Linked DNA regions of Homo sapiens: all the other regions are linked to region 3. The links are contacts of gene promoters, found by promoter capture Hi-C in blood cells and fetal thymus (Javierre and others, 2016). All regions are on one chromosome and are shown on one strand. Each heading gives the region's core, a stretch centred on a gene start or on the middle of the fragment in contact. The rest is flanking DNA. Distances are from core to core; before and after follow the strand shown.

Region 1 (3,288 bases), core at 206-2,705, 1.2 Mb before region 3:
TAGGAAATTGCCAAATGGTTTCCCAGAGTGTCTGTACCATTTTGCATTCCCACCAGCAGTGCATGAGAGCTCCAATTGCTTTGTATCCTCACCAGCACTTGATATTTTTAAGATTGTTTCATTTTAGCTATTCTTATATATTAGTATTACATCATGGTTTTAACTTGCATTTACCTAAAGGCTAACGATGGCGAAGCTTTATGTGTTTATTTACCATCCATATGTCTTTTTGGGGGAAATCTTTTGCCTGTCTTTTAAGTCTTTTGCCTGTTTTTCAAAGGGTTGTTTGTTTTCTTATTCTGTGGGATTGTTTTTATTTTTTGATTTTTCAACTTTTATTTTGGAATAAGAGGGTTCATATGCAGTTTTGTTACATGGGTATATTGCGGGATGCTGAGGTTTGGGGAATGGCTGATCCTATTATCCAGGTAGTGAGTGTGGTACCCATGCTCCTCTCCTTTCCTCCCCACCTCCAACATCGCCAGTGTCTGTTGTTCCCATCTTTGTGTCCATGTGTACTCAATGTTTAGCTCCCGCTTGTAAGTAACAACATGCAGTATTTGGTTTTCTGTTCCTGCATTAATTCACTTAGGATAGTGGCATCCAGCTGCATCCATGTTGCTGCAAAGGACATGATTTAATTCTTTTTTATGGCTGTGTAGTATTCGATGGTGTATATGTACCATATTTTTTTAATCCAGTCCACCATTGATGGGCACTTAGGTTGATTCCATGTCTTTCCTATTGTGAATAGTGTTGCAGTGAACATATGAGTGGCATGTGTCTTTTTGGCACAATGGTTTCTTTTCCTTTGGATATATATCCAGTAATGGGATTGCTTCATTGAATGGTAGTTATGCTTAAGTTCTTTGAGAAATCTCTAAACTACTTTCCACAGTGGCTGAACTAATTTGCATTCCCATCAACAGTGTATGTATTCCCCTTTCTCTACAGTCTCACCAACATCTGTTATTTTTTGACTTTTTGATAATCACCGTCCTGACTAGTGTGAGATGGCATCTCATTGTGGTTTTGATTTGCATTTCTCTGATGATTAATGATGATGAACAGTTTTTTCATATGTTTCTTGGCTGTTTGGATATTTTATTTTAAGAAGTATCTGTTCATGTCCTTTGCCATTTTAAAATTAGATTTTTTTTTGCTTTTTTTTTTTTAGTTACTTGAAGTTTCTTTATATAATGTGGATACAGCTCCTAGGTCATATGTGATTTGCAGATTTTTTTTTTTCAGTCAGTATCTTGTGTTTTTATTCTTTAGCAGTGTCTTTGGAAGAGTAGAAAATTTTAATTATGAAGAAGTACAGCTTTTTTTTTTTTTTAAACTTTATGCTCTAGACATGATTTAGGCACCATATCTAGGAACTCTTGCCTAACCCAGGCCATGAATATTTTCTTGGATGTTTCTTCTGAAGGTTTTATACCTTTACTTTTCCATTTAGATCAGTGGTCCATTTTGAGTTAATTGTTGTATAAGGCATGTGACTTAGGTCGAAGTTCTTCTGCTACTTCTCATTTTTCTTTGGCATAGGGTATCCAATTGTTATAATACCATTTGTTGAAAAGACTGTCTTTCGTCTATTTAATTGCCTTTACACCTTCATAAAAAATCACTTGAATATATTTATGTGGATCTATTTCTTGATTGTCAGTCTTGTTTAATTGATTTATAACTGTTGCTTCACCAATATCACACTATCTTGAATACTGTAGCTTTATAGTAAGTCTTAAGGCTATGTAATGTGATTCCTCCAACATTCTTATTTTTCAAAATTAGTTTGGCTCTTCTCATTTCTTTGCCTTTCCATATAAATTTTCAGATCAGTTTGTCTATGTCTACAAAAACAGCCATGCTGAGAATTTGAAATTTTGTTAAATCTGTAAATCAATTTGAGTCGTCTGACCAATGAATATATGTCTCTCCATTTTTCTAGGTTTTCTTTGATTTCATTAACCAGTGTTTTGTAGTTCTCAGCATACAATCTTACCCATGTCAACTAGACTTATACCTAAATACTTTACTTTTTTGGTAGATGTTTGTAAATGGCATTTTAAAATTTTAATTCCTAATTATGGATTGTTAGTATAGAAATATACTTGATTTTTGTGTGTTGACTTTGTATTCCATGAGCTTGCTTTAAACTCTATCAATTCTGTGAGGATTTTTGCTTTTTTTTTTTTTCTTTGCAGATTCCTTGGGATTTGCTATGTATGTCTAGAAAAAAGGTGTGGTTTATTTCTCTCTGTCCAAATTTGATGCCTTTTATTTGTTTTTCTCTTCTTATTGTACAGTGTAGATTTCCAGTAAGAAGTTGAATAGCTGGGCACGGTGGCTTATGCCTGTAATCCCAGCACTTTAGGAGGCTGAGGCGGGTGGATCACGAGGTCAGGAGTTCAAGACCAGCCTGGCCAAGATGTTGAAACCCTGTCTGTACTAAAAATACAAAAATTAGCCAGGTGTGCTGGCACGCTCCTGTTTTCCCAGCTACTTAGGAGTCTGAGGCAGAGATTTGCTTAAAACCAGGAGGTAGAGGTTGCAGTGAGCCAAGATTGTGCCACTGCACTCTAGCCTGGGTGACAGACCAAGACTCTGTCTCAAAAAAAAAAAAAAAAGTTGGATGGAAGTAGTGAGAATACACACTCTTACCTTGTTCCTGATCTTAGGGGAAAACATTCAGTCTTTCTTTGTGAAGCTTGATATTGGAGGTAGGTTTTTTTATACCTTTTTTTTTTTTTGAGACGGAGTCTTGCTTTGTTGCCCAGGCTGGAGTGCAGTGGTACGATCTTGGCTCACCACAACCTCTGCCTCCTGGGTTCAAGTGATTCTCCTGCCTCAGCCTCCTGAGTAGCTGGGAGTACAGATGCATGCCACCATGCCCAGCTAATTTTTGTATTTTTAGTAGTGATGGGGTTTCACTATGTTGGCCAGGCTGGTCTCGAACTCCTGACCTCATGATCCACCTGCCTCGGCCTCCCAAAGTGCTGGGATTACAGGCATGAGCCACCATGCCTGGCCTTATAGCTATAGTTTAATAGGCTTAGGAAGTTTTTTTTTTTTATTTCTAATTTACTGAGACTTGTTGATACTGAATTATATCAAATGCTTGTCTTTGCTTTGATTGATACACGCATGTGATTTTTCTTCTTTAAACTGTCAGTATGGTGAATTACATGAACTGATTTTCAAATATTGAACCAGCCTTGCATTCCTGAGATTAAACCTCCTTGATTGTAGTGTATTATTCTTTTTTCTTTTTTTTTTGAGACGGAG
Region 2 (3,491 bases), core at 971-3,470, 1.0 Mb before region 3:
TTCGGTTGTAGGAGTTTTTATATTTTGTTTGTGGTTGCCACATATGGGAAGAAGATGATACTTGAGTATGCTTGTCTAAGAAGTGTCTGAAGCTGTTGGCATCAAGAGCACAATTATTATGTTCAAAACAGATCTAGATGGGGCAACTGAAGCTAATGAGAAACCTGATTGTGCCTTCCTGCCTGCAGCGTTGACCTAAGCCCTAGGCACCAGCATTCTTATGCAAGGACCCCAAGGGCCCCTCCTCTGTGGACTGCAAAGCAAGGCCAGACTAGTTTTACTTCTGATGAGACCCAAAGGTGCAAAGGACAGCCGACCCCATGCAAGGCCTAAATGAGGGGAGGATTTCAGCTATTAGTCAAATACTGGTGCTCAGGAAAGAGATCTGTAGAAACTCCCTGAAAGATCTGTGTGCAGAAGTGAATATTGTAACCTATGCATCTGCAGGGACACCCCAACATGAATGGGAGCTTAGAAAGGAAACAGTGCTCATTGATCATGAAGCACTGCTTGCTTCTGGAGGTAACATTGTGTTAATAAGTAGTTTTTAAGTTACATATTAATCATAAACTATATATTTTTAAATGGTCCATATCTTAGAAGTTCTCTGTGGTCCTTTGCTTCCAATGTTTCTTTAGGGCAAAAAATAAAAATAATCCACAGGACACTGAGGAGAGCAATACAATTTCCATCAGTGATGAATTGGAATAGAAATGCTGATGTATAGCAAAGATACTTACTCTATGTACAGAATCTACTTTGTAATCCCACTTCATGGCATTCTAGTTTCTCCTCTCTTATGCTTTTGCAACCATTAAATTGTTTCCAAGCCTTGTACAGTTGACTGTTATGTGTGTGGGAGTCTTTAGTAAAAATAGAAATAGACATCCACCTGAAAATTGCCTGGACTTGTTCTTAGTGGTCCCCGTGCCATGCAAGTGAACTGGATTCCTTTGATGATATTGATGAGGATATTACCTAATCTTCACCTCTTCCTAGGAACACACTTTACCATATGTCCCTGTGAAGTAAGTGTTAAGAGAGTAAAATAAATAAATCGCATTATGTACACAGGCCCTTTCTGCCCAGTCTTGCCATTCAGAAATGCACTCATTTAATCTCCTAGTTGTGAACACTTGCTGGGGCCCATCACATGCCCTGGCTGGCACTGCACAGTGCTGAGCAGCACAGATGGATACAGCTCCTCCTGGTATTGAGGAGGCCCCGTCTAAGAAGATACACAGATGTTACCATGAAGTCAAGGAGCATGCAGGGGCCCAGGCACGGGGGAGAGGCAGCTGTTTCTTTTCTGTGACATGTAGTATTGAGATGGGCCTTGAAGGATGGATGGGTCGTGAGGACAGGACAGTTCAGCGAGAGAGGACACTCCGTGCTGAGGCTGAGGTGGGGCCGGCGGGGAGAATCAGGGCCACTGGAAGAGCAGGATGCCACACTGCACACACCATTTGAGTAGGATCCTGCTTACAATTATGCAGCTAGTGACAGTGAATACAAACCAAGCTTCTTTCCAATGCCAATAATGCCATACTGGCCTCCCATCTGTTCCTCTTGTAGTATGTAAAAGGCCAAGTTAGAAGGGCTTGTTATCAAAGAGAGAAAAAGCAAATGCTGGCAAGGATATGGAGAAAGGGGATGCTTATGCACTCTTGGTGGGAATGTAAGTTAGTATAGCCATTATGAAAAATAGTATGGGGGTTCCTCAAAAACCTAAATGATGCAGCAATCCCACCACTAGGTATTTATCCAAAAGAAATGAAATTAGTATGTTGAAGAGATGTCTGCACCCCCATGTTTATTGCAGCATTATTCACAGTAGTCAAGATATGGTATCACCTTAAAGAACTAAAAGTAGAACTACCATTTGATCCAGCAATCCCACTACTGGGCATCTACCCAGAGGAAAAGAAGTCATTATTCGAAAAAGATACTTGCACACGCATGTTTATAGCAGCACAATTCACAATTGCAAAATCGTGGAACCAACCCAAATGCCCATCGATCAATGAGTGGATAAAGAAACTGTGCTATATACATATGATGGAATACTATGCAGTCATAAAAAGGAATAAATTAACAGCATTTGCAGTGACCTGGATGAGATTGGAGACTATGATTGTAAGTGAAGTAACTCAGGAATGGAAAACCAAACATCGTATGTTCTCACTGATATGTGGGAGCTAAGCTATGAGGACACAAAGGCATAAGAATGATACAGTGGACTTTGGGGACTTGTGGGCAAGAGTGGAAGGTTGGTTAAGGGATAAAAGACAACAAATATGGTGCAGTATATACCGCTTGGGTGATGGGTGTACCAAAACCTCACAGATCACAACTGAAGAACTTATGTAACCAAATACCACCTGTACCCCGATAACTTATTGAAAAATAAAATAAAGATATGGAATCAACCTAAGTGTCCGTCAGCGGATGAATGGTTAGAGAAGATGTGGTATATATACACAATAGAGTACTATTCTGCTATAAAGGAAAAAATGAAATCCTGTCATTTACAGCGACATGGATGGAACTGGAGGCCATTATATTAAGTGAAATAAACCAGGCACAGAAGGAGAAATAATGCAGGTTCTCACTCTTACGTGGGAGCTAAAAAAGTGGATCTCATGAAGGTAGAGAGTAGATTGGTGGTTACCAGAGGCTGCGCAGGGTGGAGGGGAGAGGGAGGAAGAGGGAATGCTTAATGGATATAAAAGTTCAATTAGGTCGAAGGAATAAGTTCTAGTGTTTGGTAGCATAGTCGGATGACTATTGTTAACAATAACTATTGTATAGTTTGAAATAGAAAAGATTTTAAATGTTTACAATACAAAGAAATGCTAAATGTTTGAGGTTAAAGATATCCCAATTACCCTGGTTTGATTATTACACATTGTAAGCTTGTATCAAAATACCACATGTACCCCATAAATATGTACAATTATTATGTATCAATTTTTTTAAAGAAAAAAGAAGAGGCCAAGCAGTTTCCATCCCCTTGCTCTCGCCTGTGTCATTCTTCCTCGTACCTTTGCACAGGTGGCCTGTTTCTTTCACTGCCTCAGCGCTCCATCCTCAGCCACGGAAACATGTGGCTGCCTTTCGTTTCTGTGGAAGGTGGCACTACTAACATGATGCAGTGGTTTCTTTCTGTCTTCCCCTCACGAGACATACATTCTGTGAGTGCAGGGAAGGAGTTTGCTGTCTTTTTTGAGGCTCCCCTTCCTTTGTGGAGAACAGTGCCTGGCATGTAGTCAGTTTTTTTAGTAAAATTTTTGAGAAATAAATGAGTGATCGAGCCTGGTAGCACAGTGGTAACTGACTCTGAGAGACAGAACGACAGAGAGGGAAGAAGCATTTAAGATAACTCAGGCAGGAAATGCAAAGGGCCTGAATAAAAGCAGGGGTAGCCAGGGGTGGGGGGCAAGGAGGGAGATGGGATTTTAGGACTGTCACAGCAAGAACTGAGGTGCTTC
Region 3 (3,313 bases), core at 749-3,248:
TACAAGTGTTAATTCATTTGATTCTTACAAATGTATAAAAGAAGTAAGATTATTCCTAATTTATGTATGAAGAAACTGAAAATTTTGGACTTCTTACAATCTGACATTTATTCTTTATTTTAGGTATTTTTACATAAAATGGCCCTTACTTATTATCTTACGAAGTTTCACTCTTAGGTGAGTTTTTTTTTTTTTTTAACATAAAATGACCCTTACTTATTATCTTATGAAGTTTTACTCTTAGGTGAGTTTTACAAGTAAGGATACACAGGCATAAAGAGAATAGTAACTAGCCCTGGGTCGTACAGCAACTGAGTTTTTGCCAGAGCTCAAGGCCAGACAGTCTGAGTCTAAAGCCTGTTCTCTAAACTCCTCTGTTTCACTGATTCAGGCAGTGAAATACATGGGACAGATGAGCTCTATACTTGGTTCTGACTTGGTGGTACAAAGTCTGTTAACACCATTTTAGCCCTATGTTAGCTTTGCTAAGCCATTTCTTCAACCTATAATTTCTTAGAATAATGTTTAAAAGTATTCTTCCTATAGCATTTGGCCCTTTCCTTTTCCGATGCTAAAAATGTTGATCTTTTTACATTCCTGCCTGCCAGACAGCTTTTATACAGAAAATAGTACCTGTGGCTTTCCTTTGGAGGTGTTTCTCATCATTTAGAGGAACTCCATTTACAGGAGTTCTTACAGAGAAACCACATGGTGCAGATGTCAGTAAGAGGTCATCAAACCTGCCTCCATGGCTGTGGAGCTATTTATGCAGAGTTTGCTTCATTTCAGCTTCTGTTCTTATTGGAGCCAAAAAATGTACGTTCAAGTACTTAAATTTTTCCCATTTTATTTCAATCCTTAAAACTAACTCTTTCATAATATCAGTGAATTCATTCTTTCAAAGGAGAGAGACAGATAAGGAGGATTTCTATACAATTATCAAAGTGATACATAAATTCCCCTGTGGTAAAACAAGCTTATCCATATATCTAGAATAAATAATGTTATATACTTTGTGTTAATCACTAATGAATGTTCTTTTCTTAAAGAATAAATTTTCTTTTACAAATAAGTTTATAAGGTTTATCATTCCTTTGTTTCTTATAATCTGTAATTTAAAAATAAAACCTTTTTCAGATCATTGTAATTTTGTTAATTTAACTGCCTAAATATTGAATCTTATGTCCATACTCTCTTCCCTTGAGCATTTAAAAAATAGAAAGTTCATGTCACTTCATTTACCTCCAAGTCTTGCTCTGATAGAAATGTCTGGTACTTCCCTGGAATTCCATCTCCTGTTCTGTTGCAGTTCTTCTGATAGAATTTTTTGCCTTTTTATTGTTGTTTGAAATCCTGTGTCTGGTCTGGGAACTCGATGTTGAGGTTTCACATCACTAAAATCCACTAGGGTTGGTATGGTTCTGCCAATGCCAGGATTTAAATCAGCATCACCACCAGGACTCATAAACCCTGAACAGGAATCACCTAAGGTCACATCATCCCGAAGTGGAAATAATGGATAATGTGGCCCATATGGTGGGGGATAAGGATCATGTAAATGATAGTCTGGCAAAACTGAAGGGGGATAAGGGTGAAATTTAAGAAAAGCAGGGTTGCATTTCTTTTCAAACCTGCCATAGTTATGTCTGTTCTCAAGACCTTTCACAAAAGGCATGTTCATTTTTCTTAAGAGATCACAATAGTGTGGGTAATCTATATTCTCAACAGTTCCTGAAAGGATGGACCTTTTAGAGATACTTATCTTTCCAGGTGTGTCCTGAATTTCTACATCCATGGCCTTTTTCTTTAGAATTTTTGATAACTATAAAGTATTTCTGATAATTCCTTTATATTTAACTATATAAACTCTATTGCCAATAACTAAAGATCTGTGTTAAACTAGTATAAAATTGACACAGCTTTCTAAATGTTGGCAGATAATTTTGTTTTTCTTTTTAAGGCAAATATTTTCCTCCACCAAAGGAAGAATAGGGCAATGAAGGAACATGACATAAGGAGAATAAAGCAGAGCCCTTGTTGCCTGGCAACGGCTAGAATTCTTAACACATTGAACCATTTATTATGTACATCACAATTCTTAAGAAAAACAAAAATAGCCTTGGTACTAATATTTCCATGATACTTTTCTCCCCAGTGCTCAGGAAAGCTGTGTTCATTTACTTATTTTAAAATTTTTCCATAAGTTGGTATTTTATGGGTATAAAATATATTTAAGGAGTGTAAATAAAGCAGTTAATTCAGTGACAATACATTTCTCAAAAGTATATATGTGACTACAATTAAGTATTTATATATATAACACTTGCTATCTAATTAAATGTAAATCTAAATGCACTACAAAATATAAACATTACTAAAGTTAAATTGGTACATCTAATTTTTTTTTTTTGGTGGAGTCTCACTCTGTCGCCTAGGCTGGAGTGCAGTGGTGTGATCTTGGCTCACTGCAAGCTCCGCCTCCCAGGTTCACGCCATTCTCCTGCCTCAGCCTCCCAAGCAGCTGGGACTGCAGGCGCCCGCCACCATGCCCGGCTAATTTTTTGTATTTTTAGTAGAGATGGGGTTTCACTGTGTTAGCCAGGATGGTCTCGATCTCCTGACCTTGTGATCTGCCCGCCTCGGCCTCCCAAAGTGCTGGGATTACAGGTGTGAGCCACTGTGCCCAGCCCTAGTATATCTAATTTTTAAGAAAAACAGAAAATTATAATGAAAGTACAGGTACATCTTTACATGCCCTAAATTATCTTTACTTCCCTTAAATTTGCCATGGTGTCCAGAGTAAGAACAGTAAGAGTTTTAAGTTCATTTTAGGAAACCACAATGGGTATCAGTTAACTGTCTACACACAAAATATCATTTAAATCACTAATGTATTGGTTCACTTAAAAGCTCTTTCACCTGGATAATTTCATCTTGCATGAACTACTATAAGAGGAAATGCAAATATTAGAATTTGGGGTAAAAGTTCACATCATCCTTACTGCAGCAAAAATGTTAAAACAGGCAAGATTCTAGCTTTGAAGAGTCAGGCACATAATCGTTAATCAGGCCAACTGTCAAGGGTGATATGTTTGGTACAATCAGAATGCCTATGCCCCATTGAAAGTCTTTACAATTTTGAGATATACTATTAAACAAGTGAGATTAAATTAGGTGGTTAGGCTGTCAGTTTTAAATCCTTCATCCAGATCATAGCATATCAAGTGACAGTTTTTAGTCCACCCATGATCACTCATTTCTTCATATCAAAAGTGATAACTCACTTGTAATTAGGCATTCTACATTTAGTTGC

The links. The method cuts DNA at HindIII sites, captures the fragments that hold promoters and counts their contacts. A CHiCAGO score of 5 or more calls a contact.
Region 1: a fragment that was not itself captured here is called in contact with the fragment with the promoter of SPMIP7 in region 3 in 1 of 17 cell types (endothelial precursors); the score reaches 7.4 in endothelial precursors.
Region 2: a contact is called between a fragment that was not itself captured here and the fragment with the promoter of SPMIP7 in region 3, in 4 of 17 cell types (naive CD4 T cells, fetal thymus, activated CD4 T cells and 1 more). The highest score is 6.7, in naive CD4 T cells.

The regions. Positions count from the first base shown.
Region 1 is chr7:51,284,292-51,287,579 of GRCh38, reverse strand. All of the region lies in intron 1 of COBL (cordon-bleu WH2 repeat protein), which reads left to right. Among named protein-coding and RNA genes, the nearest start is that of COBL, 31 kb to the left of the region's middle. The HindIII fragment of the contact is 2,514 bases long and covers 199-2,712 here.
Region 2 is chr7:51,109,466-51,112,956 of GRCh38, reverse strand. The region is part of intron 6 of COBL (cordon-bleu WH2 repeat protein); the gene reads left to right. Among named protein-coding and RNA genes, the nearest start is that of COBL, 210 kb to the left of the region's middle. RefSeq lists an enhancer at 1,252-1,753. The HindIII fragment of the contact is 1,394 bases long and covers 1,524-2,917 here.
Region 3 is chr7:50,094,568-50,097,880 of GRCh38, reverse strand. SPMIP7 (sperm microtubule inner protein 7) reads right to left here and starts at 1,998. Exons shown (of 9, transcript NM_001161834.3): 1 at 1,243-1,998. The coding sequence starts at 1,795. The HindIII fragment of the contact is 3,144 bases long and covers 979-3,313 here.